Regions from separate parts of the Homo sapiens genome. Here regions 2 and 3 are each linked to region 1. The links are contacts of gene promoters, found by promoter capture Hi-C in blood cells and fetal thymus (Javierre and others, 2016). All regions are on one chromosome and are shown on one strand. The core of a region is centred on a gene start or on the middle of the fragment in contact, and the rest is flanking DNA. Distances in the headings are between cores, read along the strand shown. Region 1 holds the start of COLGALT2 (collagen beta(1-O)galactosyltransferase 2). Region 2 overlaps EDEM3 (ER degradation enhancing alpha-mannosidase like protein 3). Region 3 has its middle 96 kb from the start of EDEM3.

The links. The method cuts DNA at HindIII sites, captures the fragments that hold promoters and counts their contacts. A CHiCAGO score of 5 or more calls a contact.
Region 2: a contact is called between a fragment that was not itself captured here and the fragment with the promoter of COLGALT2 in region 1, in 2 of 17 cell types (megakaryocytes and M1 macrophages). The highest score is 5.7, in megakaryocytes.
Region 3: a contact is called between a fragment that was not itself captured here and the fragment with the promoter of COLGALT2 in region 1, in 1 of 17 cell types (endothelial precursors). The highest score is 5.2, in endothelial precursors.

What each region holds. Positions count from the first base shown.
Region 1 is chr1:184,035,847-184,040,287 of GRCh38, reverse strand. COLGALT2 (collagen beta(1-O)galactosyltransferase 2) reads left to right here and starts at 2,560. Exons shown (of 12, transcript NM_015101.4): 1 at 2,560-3,193. The coding sequence starts at 2,931. RefSeq lists a silencer at 2,748-2,837. The HindIII fragment of the contact is 2,777 bases long and covers 1,166-3,942 here.
Region 2 is chr1:184,694,207-184,698,647 of GRCh38, reverse strand. EDEM3 (ER degradation enhancing alpha-mannosidase like protein 3) reads left to right here. Exons shown (of 20, transcript NM_025191.4): 20 at 4,176-4,441. Among named protein-coding and RNA genes, the nearest start is that of EDEM3, 58 kb to the left of the region's middle. The HindIII fragment of the contact is 275 bases long and covers 2,312-2,586 here.
Region 3 is chr1:184,656,618-184,661,058 of GRCh38, reverse strand. No RefSeq gene overlaps it. Among named protein-coding and RNA genes, the nearest start is that of EDEM3, 96 kb to the left of the region's middle. The HindIII fragment of the contact is 2,495 bases long and covers 1,130-3,624 here.

The DNA.
Region 1 (4,441 bases), core at 1,311-3,810:
GCTGTTGACTTTAGGTAACTGTATTAGTCTGTCCTCACGCTGTGAATAAAGACATAGCTGAGATTGGGTAATTTATAAAGAAAAAGAAGTTTAGTGGACTCACAGTTCCACATAGCTGGGGAGGCCTCACAATCATGGCAGAAGGCAAAGGAGGAGCAAAGACACACCTTACATGGCGGCAGGCAAGGGAGCATGTGCAGGGGAACTGCCCTTTATAAAACCATCAGATCTTGTGAGGCTTATTCACTATCACGAGACTAGCATGGGAAAAACCTGCCCCCATGATTCAATTACGTCCCACGACACGTGGGGATTATGGGAGCTATAATTCGATGTGAGATTTGGGTGAGGACATAGGCAGACCATATCAGTAACAGAAGGAAAATAAGACAGAAATGTGGTTGCCTAGCTTTAAACTCCCTCTGTTTGCAGTAAAGTGAACAAATGATAACTATCAAACCAAGTTTGGCTAAGGAGTGCGGATTTTAGTATTGAAAGATGAGTGGGACATAGTTCAAGAAAGGGAAACAAGAAAGACAGAACAACATGGAGATTGTCTGGACCTTTCTAACAGTCCCATCACTACCTCCCTTGTGGAAATGACCACATCTTCCTCTATCCCTTCACTGTAGCTGGTACATCTGTTACAGTACTTCTAACAGATGTTTAACTCTCAGTCTTCCCTACAAGACTGTGAGCCCCTTGAAAGTGGGAACAATTCCTGAAAATGGATGGAGGGGAAGGAAATGTCTGTAGGCCATTCGATAAAAAAATATGAAGATTAGAGAAGAGATTAGAGCAGAAGACATAGATTTTGAGGATATAACCACAGGAGACCATATGGAGTGGGAAGACTAGCACACTATAGGGAGGCACACAGTGAAGGGGCTTGGCTCAGAGACAAGTAGTATCAGAGGAGATCTAGGATGGGAGATTATGTAATCGAAGTCCAGGAAGGTGAGAACGGAAGAGTTTACTGAATCTGCCAATGCTGAGGCCATCTGTTGGTTTTGCAGAACAGTGGGGAGGGCTGACGCCTTACTGCACTGTGGTGGGAAAGATGGGAGATGAAGAAGTGGAGAATACAAGTATAGATCTCTCTTCCAAGGAGCTTGGTCAAGCAAAGGGATGACTAGAAGAAGACACAGGACTTTTTTTTAAAGCTTTTCTTTCTTTTTTTTTTAACGGATAAGAGAAGACTGACCAAGTATTTAGCTTGAGAGAAAGGAGTTGATAGAGATCAGTTGAAGATTCAGTAGAGAGTGGAATGATAGAGAAAAATCATGGGCTAGAAAGGGAGACCTCTCCCTTTCTAGTCTGTGATCAAAGACCCTGTCGTGAGGAGGCACCTGCAAGTAAGAAAGGTCTTGGTAGGGATGCTAGTTGGAGACAGTGGTGTTGGGGGAGCTGGATGAAGGAGGTGATATACTTCAAAAGACAGTAGGGAAGACTTCTAATAGTTGCTGAGAAGGATTGATAACAACTAATAAAAAGACTATGGGACAGACCTGAGGGTGAGTTGGGATTGGAGATCATGAATGTGCACTGGCACCAAAACACCCTCCATACTTATCTATCAAAGGCTACACAATATATCTTCAAAACTAAATATCCAGCCGAGCATGGTGGCTGATGCCTGTAATCGTAACACTTTGGGAGGCCGAGTTGGGCAGATCACTTGAGCCCAGGAGTTCCAGACCAGCCTGGGCAAAATGGTGAAAACCCGTCTCTACAAAAAAAAAAAAAAAAAAAAAAATTAGCTAGGCGTGGTGATGGACACCTGTGGTCCCAGCTACTCGGGAGGCTGAGGTGGGAGGATTGCTTGAGCCCAGGAGGTCGAGGCTGCAGTGAATTGTGATCGTGCCTCTGCACTCCAGCCCCGGCAACAGAGTGAGGCCCTGTCTCAAAAAAAAAAAAAAAAAAAAAGTAAATCTCCTTTAGCAGTGTATGCCAGCAGTTTCATTTTATGTGCTAATTGTGTTCTTCCTTCACCCCTTCTTTTCTTCCTTATCTCTTCTCTGCTCTCCAACATGCGCGAATTTTCCCTCTTTGTTACTCTATCATATTGGCTTATTACGGAAAAAGAAAACCAGCTAAGTGAATTTATTCTTTCACAGCCCTCCTGTGAGGAGGCTTACTGGGTTCACAGTAGAGTGAGGCTTCAGGACAGTGTCTCCCAAGGGCTTTCTTTTATTTTGCGGGGTCTGATCTGGCTCCAAAATTCTCCAAGTCTTCAAACTTTGTGTTATTAGGTGTCTACTCAGTCAAGAATGAATTTCAGAAGTTGAGTATATAAGAAAATGCGACATGCTGCCTTTGCGGTGGTTAAACAAGTGTTTGTCATAATCGTGAATAGTTGGGGAGACTTTTCATTTTAGAACTCTACTCAGTCAATAGGTGCATTATGAAAACTGGATACATTGCATCACTGTGAAGGGCTTCAGTCTGCGGTTTGCAAAAGCAGAATAAATTTTCTTGGGGTTGTACCGTTATGTACACACACACACACACACACACACACACACACACACACTCACAGGCTCATTGGCAGACAGGGCCACAACTCGCGGCTCTAGGGAAGGCCACAGACCTCAGCTGTACGAGCGGAACCTGGACTAGAGGAACTTTCCTCAGGACTCAGGGCACACAGCCCCTCGGCCACTACTGTCTGCGAGCCCGAGGCGCAGGGGAGCGCCAGCGGCTGCAGGTACGCTGCGCACCCGCACTGGGGCCTGGGCGGTGCAGCGGCGGCGGGAGGGTCCTGGGAACCGCAGCCGCCGAGGCCAGTGTGTGAGCCGGCCGGCCGCGGCAAGCCGCATCCCCCGGCCGCCCCTCGCAGCCCCTTGCTCCCCGGCAGCCGCCGCCGCCCTCAGGCAGCCCAGCCGGGCGCTCGCGCCAGGACTTCCCCGCCGCCCGCCTCGGCCCGGAACATGGCTGCGCGCCCTGCTGCCACCCTCGCCTGGTCGCTACTGCTCCTCTCCTCAGCCCTGCTCCGCGAAGGCTGCCGAGCGCGCTTCGTCGCCGAGCGGGACTCGGAGGACGACGGAGAGGAGCCGGTGGTTTTCCCGGAGTCGCCCCTGCAGAGCCCCACGGTGCTCGTGGCGGTCCTCGCCCGCAACGCGGCGCACACGCTGCCGCACTTCCTCGGCTGCCTGGAGCGGCTGGACTACCCCAAGAGCAGGATGGCCATCTGGTGAGCGCGCACGGGCCCCGGGCCGCCGCGGCGGGACGCGGGGGCGGCCTGCCCAGCGCGGACAGCGCCCGGAGCAGCAGCTGCAGGGCGAGGGAGCCGCTGGAGGGGCGGGGGGGCACGCGGAAAATCTGGCGCACACACCCCCTCGCTGCCCGCGCCGGTGGCTGGCGGATCGGGCGGTCAGGCTGCGGAGGGACGCGCGGGTCAGTGTGCGCAGAGGGTGCTGATGGGGAGAACCGGACCGCTGGAGCTCTGGAGGGTAGCCTGCGAATTGGGGCTTTGTCCCACAAGGGGCATGGGGGACACCCCTCAAGGGGACTTTCAGTTCCCTCGCTTTTAACTCTCGAGGTTTCCTCTTTCCCCACCTCATACTGCTAGCCCTGACGTGAGGGGATAGGGTGCCTGTCGCCGTATTCCCATGTAGATACGACAGATGGAACGTAACTGCGGTTGGCCAGGGGCTCCGCAGTGGCTGGGGCGCCGCAGTGCGCTGCTCTGACTTTCCGGTGCCGGGCTCCTGCTCCAGGCTGGAAATGTGCTCCTAGCTCTCCTAGGGGGACCTGGACCTAGGGGTGGAGATTGGGCGGAGCCCGCGGAGTGTGCCCAACCATGGCACCACCGTGGGCCTGGTCTCCTGCGAGCGCTCCGGGCTGTCCCTGCCGGTGCATCGGGGTTCCACGTCCCGGGGAGAGACGAAGATGCCCTGGGAAAGATAAACAGCCAAGTTTTGTCCCCGGAGGAAAGAAGCTTGGACCTGGTCCCTGTGTCTGCTGCGGGGAGGGCCAGGGGATAAGTGCGGGTGCCTGCCCGCCCCACCTTGTAGAACTTGGTCGTCTCGCACCTTTTATAAACGCGAGGATCCGAGGGCGAGAAGTTAGTTGGTGGCCAGGTTAGCCGCTGAGTGGGTTGTGGAGGACAAGGAGGTGGATGCTGGCCAGGGGAGATGTGCTGTCAGGTAGGTACTCGGACAAGAAGACTCTGGCCCCCTGAGGAAGACAGAGCCCAGGTCACTCTGGAGCAATTTCTGTCTTGTGTTGATAAAGGGAGCTGTTCTCAGGCGAGACACATCCTTAAAGCAGCGGTTGGGCAAAGAGAGGAAGAGGAGTAAAAGCAGCAGCTAGAATTGGCAGCCTCAGAGTACCTGGTGGGAGAGGTGCAAAGGTGCGAAAGCAAACATGTGATATAGTACAGCTCTGTGCTGTACACTGCTTTACTATATACCCTGCCATACGTGACCGCCTGGCGGAG
Region 2 (4,441 bases), core at 1,200-3,699, 660 kb before region 1:
TGTATTAAAAACTTTTAAATAATCTCTCATCTTTCTGAGATAACCAACCAATGTTAGCAGTTTGATGTGTAATCTTTTATATTCTTCTTAGTGCTTTATACATTTCTAAATATATGTATCATTCAGTAACTTGCCTTTTACAGTTAAAGCTATATTAAAGACATTCCTCCAAGTTAGTAGGATAGCATAACTTATTCTTTTGAAAGCTGCATTATGTTTTGCATTATCACTGTACCATAATTTATTTAACCATGTCACTATTAGGCGTCCAAATTATTTCCAGGTTTTTGTTTTGCCACTGTATACAATGGTGTAGGTAACATTCTCGTACATATCTTCTTAGATATGCATACTTTTTCTAGAATATTGAGATTTACTAAAATGAAATGCTGGCAGAAAGTATATGGGTCGTTTTCATTTTAATGGATGTTGCAAGTTGCATTCCAAAAAAGGTTGTAGCAATTCACATCCTTTCCAGCAAGATATGAGAGTACATGTTTCTTCCTATTTTAGTCAGCATATTTCCCTTTATAGGTATATTTTTTGTTTTTTCTCTTTATGGATTGCCTAGTCATATGTTTTGCATTTTGCCTTCTTTAAATAAGATTCTGTGTCTTTTCTAGATATTTTATAGGACCTCTCTGTTTGTGTGTGTGCGCATTTCCTATATTTACATACATACTCATAAAGAAATAGAGGTTCTATAAATTATCTAGAAAAGACACACATATAGGGACAGAGGTTACACACACACACACACAATTTTCCCAACATGTCATCTTTTCACTTTGTTTATGTAACTTTCATAACATTTTTAGGTAATCAGAAATATTAATTCCTTTGAGGCTCCTGGGTCTTCTGTCTCACTTCAGAAGATCACTCCATCCTGTTTTTACATAATATTTTCCTAAATTCTTCTGGCATTTTTACCATTTTTTACATTTTGGTCTCTAAATCATATGGAATTTTAAAATAAAAGTTAGGAGTCTTTCCAATTGAGTTGTCAGTTACTAAATACCATTTATGAAGCAAACCACTCATTTCTCCTTCAGTTAAACTACCATCTTTGCTATATATCAAATATTCTTGCATAGTTGGATCTGCTTCTAGACTTACCCTTCTCTTCTACTAATGTGTTTATTCCTTTGCCAATAATAAAAGTTTGCTGTTTTGAGTATATTTTATTATCTGATAGGGCAACTCTCCCCTCACTGATTCTTAGAATTTCTTGGCTTCTCTTTGACATATGCTGTTCCATAGAAACTTTAAATTAATTGTATCTGGTTCTAAAACGAAAACAAGAAGTACAAATGAGATTCATTTTGAAATTATATAATTGCATACTTTACATATAAATTAGGAAAATGTTAAATATTAAGACTTCATTTAAGAATATACCTATAAATTTAATCAAATCTTGTTTTATGTTCTCATTATGATTTTATTTAAGCAACGTGGGTCTTATACCTTTTATAATAAATTTAATTCTATGTTTTGTAGCTTTTTATTATGAAAAGGTTTAATGATTATATTTTAACTATTTATTGTTACTACAAAGGAGTTATTGGTATTTGCATAGTCTTCTTACCAAATTTTTTTTATCAATTCTAATAGTATTTTTTTATTAAAGTTGCTTTGACAGTGTACGATCACAATCTGAAAATACAAATAATTTGATCTTTTTCTATATTTACATTGATTATTCTACTTTCTTGTCCGATTACATCAGCTAGATTTCCAAAATAATATCGTATATGTAACCCTAGGAGAGTTTTTTATCACAAGCACAATCTTCATTACCAGGTAAAACAACCCTACACCTTTTCCTCTCCTTCTAATCTGGAATAATACAATCTAGAAAGAAACTTGGAGATTTTTCTTTTTGTTCTCTCTTGAATTTAGGGAACCTAGGATAAATAAGCTGTAAGTAGCCAGCTACCTTCTTTCTTTGGTCTGCACCATTGGTTTCCCTAATTGCCTAATTAAATTGTACCTTTTTCACAGCTTAGAAGACAGAGATTGTGTGGAATTCCTCAATCCACCCCCTGCTGATCCTCCCCTCCGGAAAAAAAACCCTAAGAATGTAAACTTTCAGAGTCAAGTAATCCCATCTAATCAGGGTGAACATATATGCATTGTAGGGGCAGAAAGGGGTGATCCTTTCCTCCCCATCATAAAGGGTTACAGCGGACACCCCGGGTTAAAAAAAAACAAAAACAGGTTAACAACAGAAAAGCATAATAATTTTATTATGTGTACGTGTGTGCACAGGAGCCATACAAAATATGAAAGGGGACAGGTGGTTGAAGCTTAAATACCCTCTTCTTAGGGTAGAGGAATACTAGGGAATGAAGAGGTCCAGTGCTTAGACAATGATTGGTAAAGGATTCTCTTTGCATAGTATCTAGATAAAGTCCCCCAGTTAATCTCTCAGCTGTCCTCAGAAGAACAGAAGAAAAGTCTGTTTGGGTGTGGTGAGGACCCCTGTCTCTACTCTTCTCTGATGGCTCATTTTTTTTCTCGTTATTTGATGAGAGTCCTAGGGAGGGATTCTTGAGACAATTGCATTTCATTTGGAAAGAAGCTTCCTTAGATAAGAAAATTCCAGAGAGAATCCCCCCAGTTGCTTCAGGAAAGAGGATCAGAGAGACAGGGAGGCAGGGGAAGGTCAGAGACAGACTGGTTCTGAGGCTTATTTCTGAGACCTTTCAGTTTTCCAAGCATTCATCATGCTGAAGCACCATATTTTGGGGAATTGTTTTCTGTGCCCCAGCAATACCCACCACACCTTCCTGCATGTCTACATTTCCTTTGTTTTTTCTGGTTTTTAAATAAATCCTCTTCCCTCCCTTCTTTGACATTATCTTATACTTTAAACCCCAGCTCAAGTGTCACTTTCTGAAGGAACTTTTTGAAGAAACTTCTCAAATCTCCTTACAGTTCTCCCTCTGTATCTGTGGGTTCTGCACCCATGGATTCAACCAACTGTGGATAGGAAATATTCAAGAAGAAAAAAGCATCTGTATTGAACATACAGAGATTTTTTTTCTTGTCATTATTCTCCAAACAATACAGTATACCAATGATTTGCATAACATTTACGTTGTATTAGGTATTATAAAGTAATCAAGAGATGATTTAAAGTACATGGGAGGATGTGTGTCAGTTATATGCAAATACTGTGTCATTTTACATAAGGGACTTGAGCATCCAAAATCCTTATCTCTCTTTCATAACGTGTCACAGTTGAGTTTTCTATTTATTTTCCGTGATTATTTGTATAATATCTTTTTCTCCCGTTGGACTATAAGACCCATAAGGGCAGGTATAGCATTTGGTATTGCTCCTCATTTTATCCCTAGCACTATGCAAATGATGACTTGGAGGATATTTGCTGGCCAACTGCATCACAGAGGCAGAGACTGAACAGGATGTAGCATGTAGGCGTCGATGCTATTTAAGCACTTTCTTGTAGGAACCCTAAATAAAATGCCTCTACTGGTTTCACTGTATATTCATTATAAGAGGTTTAACTCACTCTTCAGCCTTCCAGTGGATTTTAAAATGACTATATCTTATAATTCATAGGCCTAAAATAATAGAATTTTATGAATAATCTCAGTTCTTGTCTTGTGAAAGTATTTCTGATCAGTCACATTAATACCCTTAGTCATTCAAAAAAATCTATGTTATCTGCTTCTTTATGACTTACTGAGTAGGAATTTCACTTTTCAAAGGAATATTATTTGAAAATATAGCAATGATATATGCTGTTTAAAATTGATTCTGTTTAATATGTTCTTATGCATAAGCTTTAGGTATCTAATACATTTTAGCCATACATTGCAAATCTCTATATATTTTAATATTATTATTGGTTAGCGTACTTCTTGGCTTACTAATGTCCACTGATGTCAGTCTTAGTTATTGTCATTCCTTCCAATTTGGAAGAACGTTTATTTTCTAACACTGACACATTTTGCACAGTGAATCTATAGGAAAATGTGACTGCATAAAGACAGTCTTCATTTCAGTGCTGATGCTCACCTTTCTGCATTAACATGAGTCTCTTTCACGTTTTATTTCATCTTGTTGCAAAAACCAATATGCTTTGGAAAGTGTAATAGTACATTTTTTTAGAGAAGTAGCATGAGGTTTGTTTCTTTCTCATACAGATCCTGAAATGGAAAATGAAGAACAACCATCCTCTGAAAATGATTCTCAGAATCAGAGTGGTGAACAGATTTCATCAAGTTCTCAGGAGGTTGATTTGGTTGATCAAGAGTCTTCTGAGGAAAATTCTCTAAATTCTCACCCAGAATCATTATCTCTAGCAGATATGGACAATGCTGCAAGCATTTCCCCTTCTGAACAGACTTCTAATCCCACAGAAAACCATGAGACTACAAATCTTAATGGTGAATGTACAGATTTAGATAAC
Region 3 (4,441 bases), core at 1,128-3,627, 620 kb before region 1:
GAGCAGCCTCCTTCACTACCCTCAGTATTGGTGCTCTTTAGAGGAATTTTCTGAAGGGCTGGGGACATCAAAAAGGAAGTAGGACACAGTAGAGAATAGGTCATAATTAATGTTAGAGGTGGCCACTGTCAGGGCTCACAGGTCCAGGTGGGCCTATCCTTGGCCTCTGCAGAGGGTTTTGGGGCCAGGCTCCACTGGCTGGGCCTGCCCACCCCTGCATCATGACTTCCTGTCCAGACCCAACTGCCCAAGGTCAGGAGAGAAGAAAATGCTCTCTGCCTCAGCCCAACTCAGGGCCTGGCTTCCCAGGCTCCATTTCTTGTGTTAGGATCTACCCTTTCTCAGCATTTTTTCAAAGGGGGAATGACTGCCTCTTTCTTGGGGAATGCCATTTTACACACACAGGTGGGGAGTGGGTGGGACAGCCACCTCAAGCTGGTTTCTCTTCAGCAGATTCTGGGTGGCTTAATCTTACAAAATGGTTTAGGCAGAGCTGCCCTAGGCCAGTCCATTTCTTTCTTACTGTGTCATACATGGGATTTGGTCCTGTAGCACTTCTTTCCAGCTCTCTACATCTTGCAAATTATGCTTTAAAAATCCTCATGCGTTTGATATAGGGTGCATTCTAAATCATTCAGAAAAGGAAAACATTTCTCCTATTTTTCTCTTTCCCTCCCTCCTCACCATAAAACAAACATGAAATCTCCAGTCAGAAGAAAACATAACCCAGTCTACAGAAATCTGAGCTCTGGCACAAGCAGACACATGTTAGCATCACCCTGCAGAACACTCAGCTTCTGAGGCAAAAATATTTCTTTTGGGAGAGGGATGATTTTACTAGGTTTTTTCTGAATAAACTTTATGAAACCACACGGTTTCTTCATATGGTTTTCCCAGAATAAAAGGACAGTCTACCAAAAGTGAATTTGAGTTTCAGTCTTTTCAGGAAACAGTGGCTTGCATTTTAAAATCATTGTTTTCTTCAGCTTTTAAATTAGTTAAAAATTAGTTAAAAAACAAATTAGGAAGAAAATTCTAGCTACAGGATTCCATAAGAGATACACATAACTGTGAAAATAAGAAAAAAATTCCCTATGAATAAATTGAGAATAACTTGAGTGGGAAAGCTTTAAAAGGTTTAAAACAGAAGAAAACTATCATGCAAGCATACTAATACATATTATTGCAAAAATGTTTAAGAAAGAATGAGCAAAGAGAACAATGTATCATAATAGTAATAATATTTGACCAAGGAGGGCTTATTATAAAAATACAAGAATATAAGAATGGTTCAATATTAATAAATATATTAATGAAATTCATTATATCAGTATATTAAAGCACATTATTAGTCAAAAAACTAAGTAAAGTTATAAATAGAAAAGTATGAAAATATGATAATGATGAACAAATATCAATAGCAAACATCATCATAAATAATGAAATGAGAATACCATTTTCATTAAAATCAAGAACAGAAAAGACATGCTCATTATCCCCAAAATTCAACATTAGTTAATTCTAGTAAATGCAAGAAGGCAAAAATTGAAATATTTTGCATAAATATGGAAAAAGAAGAGATGAAAGATCATACTTTAGTAATGTAATTTTATACCTAGAAAATTCAAGAAATATCATAATATTAGAATTAATATGAAAATTTTACAGGATATAAATATAGACCTGAAAGGCACAGGAGCCATATGAAGTTAGCTATAATATTTTATCAAATGATCTAAAGCAAGATCAGAAAAGTAATCAAAATATATAGTATGGAAAGGAAAACTTCACACCATAAAAATGTCATTTTCCTCAATAGTAACATGTATAATTAATGGAATTTTAATTTAAGTGGAATTTAAGTAAGGTTTTTATTTAATTAGATACAGAATTTTTTAAGATTCATGTGGAAGACTATGTATGTCCAAGAATACACATAAAATAATGAGGAGAGAGTAGCAAAGGAGGACTTTACTACCAGTTCAACTACTGGAAGTCTGTTCTATAGAAATAAAGCCACCAGTATAAGGATATTCACTGCAGCATTGCTTGTGGTGGCAAACATCAAGAAACAAACTGAGAATTCATTGAAAGGGGAATGGGTAAAATCATGGCATATTCTTAACCATGTAATGTTGGGCACTATTTAAATAGAGCTTTACCAATTGATTTGGAGAGATTTTCACAAAACGTTTTTAAGTGATAGAACAAACTTCAGAGAATGTATAGGGAAAAAACATTTTTGTAAAACAAATATTGACAACCCTTAAATACATGTATACATGTTTTTATATTGTTACATGAACATGAGAATGTTAGAAAAACTACACAAGGGGTTATTAACTGAGCATCTGACCTTATTGCATGTTCTAATTATATATATATATATACGTTCAAACACAAAAAAGTATAGAGAAAGAGACAGATAATCTGAAATCCCACTACCTGGAGATAACTACCATGAGTATTTTAGAGTTCATCTTTCATACATCCCTTTGTGCATATTCACGATTTTATGTGGACAGAGTGAATGCTGTTTTTTAAATCATGAATTCCTTTACATATAAAGAAAATAAAATAAATCTAGTTTCATTTGGGGGAGTAAATTCCAATAAACTCTCACATTGAGTGAGATTCTACTATGTGAGTAGAATTCTGGAGTAAAAGGAGATGCTGAGAAGTGACGGCTCTTGTCAGTTAATTACGTACATTTGAGCAAGTCATTTCAATTCTCTGGGCTCCCATTCCTCCCATAAAATGAAGGTGAAGTGGATGAGCTCTTAGCTTCCTTTCTGTTCCATCCAATACAGGAATATCTGATGCTCCTATATTGTTAGCTGTGAGAAAATCAGAATGATGGACAGGAGGGAAAACACAGGCTCTAGAATCAGCACTGAGGTGAAATACCAAGTTTGTTATGACTGCACATCCTTGGGCTAGAGAAGCAAATTCTCTAATGAGGCTCTTTGCTTGAAAAATGGAGAACTAACAATTGCATTACAGAATTGTAAGGACTGACTGGAAAATATACATAAAGGATTAAGCATACATTATATATCTGGAATTATATATAATATAATACATATATTATATATATTATATATAAGCATATATATATATCATGCTTAGTGCTTTATGTATATGTTCCATGCTTAGTGCTTTATTTATATATCCACATATATACATGTGTGTATATATGTAAATATACATAGCATATAAACATTTATATATAAATATTATATATTATCTGAGTTATATAATATATAATGTACAATGCTTATATATTACATGCATAGCAAGAAATATACATAACATATATGTACATATGTCTATACATATGTAAATAAACATAGCAGCACTCTTTTGGATCTAACACTAATTAAGAGACAAAATAATTTTTAATAAACAAATTAAAATAATAGACTTTATATATAATTTCCAAAGGGCTGCTTTGTCACTTAAAGTGAAACATAGTTTAAAAATAAGACATGAAACTCCATGGGGGGAAAATAAGCAAGGATGAAACGGCAGAATAACTTTGCAGCTCTTTCAGCAGGCTCATTTCTGAGCACGGTCTATTTCCTAAACAGTTTACTAATGGAACGTTTCTATTTTGGAGAAGCTTGTTGAAGTCCACCCAAACAGGTGCTACTGAATAAAGCCTTCCTGGGTTTAAGCAAAATGAAAAGAGGCTGTATTTTCTTCCCTGTGCGAATGCTTCACATTTTCCATAAATCAAAAGGGAAAAAAAAGTTGTGAGTGAAATGTCATTAACCAGGACATTTTAGAAATGCAGAACCTGGACTTTTGATTGCACACCATAGATAAAAATGCAGGAAACCATAGTTTCCAACTCATGGCACCATCATTTTGTATCTTTGGGGCTATAACTTGCCCTGGGAAGAACTATTTCATTTCTCAACAATTCTAACTCTTCTTCTGAGGAATCCCAGTTACTACTGAGAATGAGTCCAATAACTTCCTTCAATGTTAAGTCAGTGATCCAGCCAGAATCAGAAATATTCTTACAGAGTAAAACAATCATTAGAAAGTTTCAGGCCGGGCATGGTGGCTCACGCCTGTAATCCCAGCACTTTGGGAGGCCAAGGCGGGTGGATCACCTGAGGTCAAGAGTTTGAGACCAGCCTGGCCAACATAGTGAAACCCTGTCTCTATTAAAAGTACAAAATTTAGCCAGGCCTGGTGGTGCAGGCCTGTAATCCCAGCTACTTGGGAGGCTGAGACACGAGAATTGCTTGAACCTGGGAGGCGGAGGTTGCAGTGAGCCGAGATGGTGCCACTGCACTCCAGCCTGGGCGACAGAGCGAGACTGTCTCAAAAAAAAAAAAAAAAAAAAAAAGTTTCATCATGCAGACTCCATATTGGACCTTTAGCTTCACTGTATCATGAAAGATACGATTCTTTCAAAATTAGAAACACT